Regions from separate parts of the Homo sapiens genome. Here region 2 is linked to region 1. Evidence: promoter capture Hi-C in human tissues and cell types (Jung and others, 2019). All regions are on one chromosome and are shown on one strand. Each heading gives the region's core, a stretch centred on a gene start or on the middle of the fragment in contact. The rest is flanking DNA. Distances are from core to core; before and after follow the strand shown. Region 1 holds the start of PTPRD (protein tyrosine phosphatase receptor type D). Region 2 has its middle 230 kb from the start of TYRP1.

Region 1 (3,014 bases), core at 229-2,728:
TTTAAGTGATGATGACTGTTTGTGCATGGGAACCTTCTTGGATGGGTAGGCTCCGTGGCTTTAGGGAGGCTGAGCAGGGAACCCGGCAGCGCGTGGGTTCAGGAGAAGGGTCCCTTTTAAAGAGCAAAGGGACACAGCAAGCAGTGGAGAAGGTATGAAAAGAAAAAGGTGAAGGGACCCTGGGGAAAATTCCACCTATAGTGACTAAGCTTTATTTCTCTTCGGGAGAAAGTGACATTTCTGCGATTAGATCATTGACATATAAGGAAAGTAGATGGATAACTGGTTTTTCGTTGTTCTTTTTTTATTTGTTTTCTTCTACAGTGCTTACAGAACCTTTGACCAGATGGTACCTGGAATGCTCTGTGTTGCATATTACAAACAGGATAATTATTTTGGCTTTTTAGAAAACGCACCGACATGGTGACATTGCTCTCTGTTTATCAAGAGACAGAGCATTTGTTGCCTATAGCTGTATGCTCTGATGAGACATGAAAGATAGTAAAATGACAAAAAGCTTCCTGCTGTTTTTCTCTCATCCTGCCCCTTCTTCTCCCCCCAGCTCCAAACCTTATTTCTAGTTTCGCTGGGGGTCTAAGTTCCTCCTCCCCTGTCTCCCGAGTCTGTGGTACACCACATCTGATGCACTCCGATACCCCACTCTACCTTGGGGTAAGGAGGAGGTGGGGAAGAATCCGCTCCCTGCATCCATGTCCTCTCCTCTGCAGCGAGGCATATTCTCAGCAACTCTTGTACAGGTTTTCCCTTCTCAGCTACCACCTTGGCAGAGCTCTATCCCTCCCTCAAGCCCAGCCAGACTGCCAAGCGCCCCGACTGAAAACTCCATCCAGCTCAGCCGAAGTACACCCCCTCCGCCAAGCAACCCCTGTGCCCCTGCCCTTCACCTCCCTAAGTCTGCTCTTCATAAGCATCGATTCCATTGCAAATCAAATGTACGTCCCCCAGCTATTAACACCCACTACCCCTTAGGTGTTACCGACAGCCTCCCTCGGAAAATAATAATAATAATAATAACCGAAAGCACGCGAACACCTGAAGAAGCACAGATCGGGATCCGCATCTGGACCAGTCCTCTGTGGCTATAGTGATGGGGAATAGCCTGTGCCTGACATATCCTCCTGTTCCCGCGCGAACCGCTTTACCCTGGATCCCTGGAATCGTGCCTAGGCACCCGGGCGGCGGGGTCCGCCCAGGCCGCGTCAGGCAGCTCTGGGCCGGTGGGTGCCGGGTCTCCCCTCCTCCCGCCCCATCTGGCGCGCCCGCAGCGCCGCCGCCGCCGCCGCTTCTCTCCCCAGCGGGCGCTCGGAGCATCCCGCGCCGCGTTCTCCCCGCCCCGGCCCCCGCCCGCCGGAGCGGGGCCCACGCCGCTGGCAGCCATCAAGTGGCTCGTTAAGGAAATGCAGGTGAGTGCGTGAGGCCGAGCGGCAGCTGCTGGAGACGTGGGGTGTGTGCCTGTGAGTGCGAGCGAGACGAGGAGGGAGCGCCAGCGAGCGAGCGAGCGAGTGCGGGAGCGGCCGCCTCGGCTCCCCGCCCAGCCGCGCCCGCAGCCGGCGGCCGGAGCGCGTGGGGGCAGCGCCTCGCCCCGACAGAGCCTCGCCTCCTCCTTGCCGTCTCGGCTGCTTCTCCGAGGAGCCGGGAGCCGCTCATCGGCCTCCCCAACCCTGCGCTCCCCTCCCAGCCCGAGTCCTCCCGCTGCTCTTTCTCCTCCTCCTCCCGAGCCTCCTCCCCTCCGGCGCGGCGCCGCCAGCCAGCCTCGGCGGGGAGAGTGCAGGTACTTTGCCTTCAGAATAATTAGCAGGACCCAAGCCGGCTTTCCGAGCGCGCTTTCTTTTTCTTCCTTTGCCCCCTCCCTCCGGAAAAGAAGATCCCACTTTTGAAACAATCAGAAATCGAAGCACCCCACCAAAGCCAAACCCTGACGGGCTGCTGTGCATGTGCCATCCCTTTTTGCAGTTTATTCTGGGCCTGTGTGGAATAGAAAGACAATTCTTTATTTGACTGGTAGGAAAGAAAAGAGAAGACTCCTCAGGGTTTCCAAGGAGGACTGGAGCGGCTGCTTTAGTAAGTAAACTGTGCTTCTGTCTTTCTTTTCTCTAAAGTGAAGCATATGCTGATGCTTTTCAATGCCCAATGTCCAATGCTGTGGACAGTTTATTCATTTTACCTGGGAATAACTTGACTTATATAACTTCAGTAGCTCCTATTTGAGAAGTGGTTCGCTAAGCATTTTTTTCTTTTTTTTTTTTTTTTGGAAGAGCCCTTAGAAGACTTCGATATGGGATCAGTATGGGCAGCCTTACTGGAAAACTGATTTTTAAACGTTTATTGTTCAAGGGCTATTGGAAGCCTGCTTTGTTAAACATTGGTTGGTTCTAAGATTTAAGGGTGGTTATCTAGAAAAAGCTTGAAAAATCTAACCCTACTGGCTCACTTCTCCTGCCACCTTCAACCTCAGCCCTAATCCATGCTAACTCCCACCCTACTCTGACTTCAGTTGGTTGGTTGTTTTATCTTTAGTTCTGAAAAGCTCTAGAAAAAAAAAGGGGGGGGGGGCGGAAAAGGGAAAGTTAATAAGGATGGTTTGAAAGACCAGATGAAAATTCTGTTGCGATTTCTTCATGCCTGTAAGGAGATAATAATTGGAGGAAAATCCTGGAACTAGAATAGTTGGAGAATTAGAATGAACTTAATTTGGAGAGAGAATGTGAAAAATACTTTGGAGAGGGCAGGGCTGAGACTGTGACTTTGACACAGCGGGTTATAAACTCTGACAGGGCTCAGCAGCCAGTGACAGGTTTAAGGTGTCTCCTAAGGCTGAATATCTCTGCATCAAAAACTTTTGCAGGCAGTATTCCTCTTGGGGCTAACATCACCATGTCAGTAGCTGTAGCATTTCTTTTTACAGAAGTAGGACACTCTTCTTTCTACAAAAGGGTTAATAAGTTCATTATACATATATATAAAAAACATGTAGTCTAACATTTGCCAATATT
Region 2 (2,700 bases), core at 117-2,616, 1.9 Mb before region 1:
TTAAGTAAATTAGAGTGGAGAACTGCAGCAATTATGTGAATTCTCTAGTTGAAACATGAATTATTTTTGCTGAAATGTTTGAACATATGTGTTAACAGCAAACCCACTGCTTCAACCAACTTCACTTCCTTAGGTTAGTTTACTCTAAAAACAAATAGTAAATAGTAACATCTGGGTATTAGACATAGAGTAAATCCCATTTCAAGAATTACTCTTTGTACCATAACCCTTTTGCACTACAAAGCCCACAAAAGGGGAGTTTGACTGCTAAAAACTGATAGCATTTTTATTATGGACACCAGATGGCGCTCGTACATCTTGAATTGGCTTTGATCTTTCTTGTTTTAAAATTGTCCCCCTTTCTCCTTTTCAGTAAGAATTTGCTTAAAAGATTAAAGTTCATGTATGTTTTCTCTTATGTAAAACTTAATTGAAAGCTTTCAAGTATTGAGTAAAACTCACAGCCCATTTTCACATTTTTTTTTAGCTTGATTGGACAATATTGTTGACGTCTATTGAATATTGCAGGAATGACTATTAAGAATATCTGTGTTAGTGACCTGAGGGAACAGTCCACACAGTCACTGTCTAATCATTTAGAAATTTAAATTAGTTTAGAAATTATTCTAATTTTTGAAGCCATTTTTGTCCGTATTCCATTCTTCTGTCTTCAATGCCTTGTCGGTGAAAAAAAAATAAAGAGAAAAGAAAAAAAGACACACTGGTAACTAGGAATTACATTTATCCATCATCCACAAGAGAGCCCTGTCTATGTGCAAATGAGTTTTACGTGAAGCCTCATGGGTGCCTGAAATTATTCCTCTTACAAACACTCTCTTGTTCTGCTTCATTCTCACATTTCCAGATCAGTGTCACTTTATTCTGCTTAAACCATCAAACAGATAATAGCATACAATTAGTCACCTTATTATAGGAGCAGCAGCCATTGCTGCTTTCTCTCTCTCCCTGTCTCTCCACTCCATCTCTTTAAATTGATAAGCAACTTTTTACCTTGATGAGGGATGGCATGTTATGAAAGATCTGTTCTATACTCAGTGGCTTTAACACAACCTTTTTTTGCTGGCCTTGAGCCTTTACAGTAGTCTCTTATTTTTCTGGGAATTATAGTTTATCTACCACCTCTGAGATTTCATTATGTTTAAATAGGAGCTTCCCCACCACTCCCAGCAAGCAAGAAACATCTACCTCTGCATTGTATATAATAGAAAACTGATGAAAATTAAACTTGAAAGAAACCTTTGCTTACTTTTTAAAATCCTTTATTCGTTATCTCTGCCTTTTAGTGGAAAGTTGTGGGGAAAATGCAAAATTATTAAATGCAATTTACAGAAAAGAGGCAATGATTACGTCCTTTACAATCTAGTTGACTGTGAGAGTGAAGAGGGTTTTTAAAACCCTATCATATTTCCCCCATGCTAACATGCAAATTGCTCCTCTCATGATAATGAGCACCTTATCTAGCTCAAGATATTTCATTTACAAGCTCACAGTTTTTTCCTGTTAATAGTTGGGAGGATTATTGACCAAAGGGTACTGATTGACTTTGTTATGCTACTAGCAGCACGTGGAATGCAATAATGGGCTTAGAGCTCCAGGCATCTGGAGAATTTTGATACTGTCTTTTCCAGAGGAATCTACTTTACCTTTTGGAAGTATTCCCACACAAGCTACAAAAACGTATTTTCTTTGGAACAGTATCTTGGCAGCTCTTTTCTGAATCATAGAAACTTTGAGCAGAATTAAGCTTAAAATTAAAAGAATAAAAACAACACTTGTTAAAAAATGTATCAAGATTAGGGAAATGTATCAGAGATGAGAGGGCTTTTGGATCATTTTTTCAACTGCCATAACATTAGGTTTCTACAGTGGTCAATCTCCCACCCACTTGAGGAACTGGAACTTCTCCAATTCAATAAGATTTTCTAGAGAGCAGAGGTTTTGTGAGTGATAAGGGATAATACAAGATTACCTAACACAATTCTTACTGGGAGGGAGAGAGGGAGAGAGGGAGGGAGAAAGGAAAGAAGGAAGGAAAGAAGGAAGGAAGAAGAGAGGGAGAGAGGGAGAGAGGGAGGGAGAAAGGAAAGAAGGAAGGAAGAAGAGAGGGAGAGAGGGAGAGAGGGAGGGAGAAAGGAAAGAAGGAAGGAAGAAGAGAGGGAGAGAGGGAAGAGGGAGGGAGGGAGAAAGGAAGGAAGGAGGGAGGGAGGAAAGGAGAGAAGGAGGGAGAGAGGGAAAGAAAGAAGGAAGGAGGGAGGGAGGGAAGGAAGGAAGGAGAGAGGGAGGGAAGGAAGGAAGGAGGGAGGGAGGAAGGAAAGAAGGAGGAAGGGAAAGAGGGAAAGGAAGGATGGAAGAAGGAGGGAAAGGAAGGATGGAAGAAGGAAAGGAAGGATGGAAGAAGGAAAGAAAGAAAAAAGAAAGAGAAAGAAAGAAAGAAGAGAGAGGAAAAAAAGAGAGAAAGAAAACTGCAGTAGTAGTGTCTGGTGACTTCAAAAACAAAAAAGTCACAACCCAAACAAACCAAAATTTAAATGATCAAAATTGGCAGCACAAAGAAAATGTCCTCTCCTAACTAGTATTGTGGCAGTCTGAACACCCCCCGAAAATCATGCCAAAGAGTTTAGAAAAACAATAAAAGTAAACACACGCATACACACAAAACAGCAAATTTCTGGTAACTAT

The links. Contacts are between HindIII fragments. The study calls those that stand out against the background at their distance.
Region 2: a contact is called between a fragment that was not itself captured here and the fragment with the promoter of PTPRD in region 1, in 1 of the 25 tissues and cell types used here (dorsolateral prefrontal cortex).

What each region holds. Positions count from the first base shown.
Region 1 is chr9:10,611,466-10,614,479 of GRCh38, reverse strand. It overlaps PTPRD (protein tyrosine phosphatase receptor type D), which reads left to right and starts at 1,478. Exons shown (of 46, transcript NM_002839.4): 1 at 1,478-1,792; 2 at 1,975-2,082. It overlaps PTPRD-DT (PTPRD divergent transcript), which reads right to left and starts at 1,274. Exons shown (of 3, transcript NR_110696.1): 1 at 1,054-1,274. RefSeq lists a silencer at 1,324-1,533. The HindIII fragment of the contact is 2,966 bases long and covers 364-3,014 here.
Region 2 is chr9:12,462,708-12,465,407 of GRCh38, reverse strand. No RefSeq gene overlaps it. Among named protein-coding and RNA genes, the nearest start is that of TYRP1, 230 kb to the left of the region's middle. RefSeq lists an enhancer at 1,662-2,161. The HindIII fragment of the contact is 4,232 bases long and covers 1-2,700 here.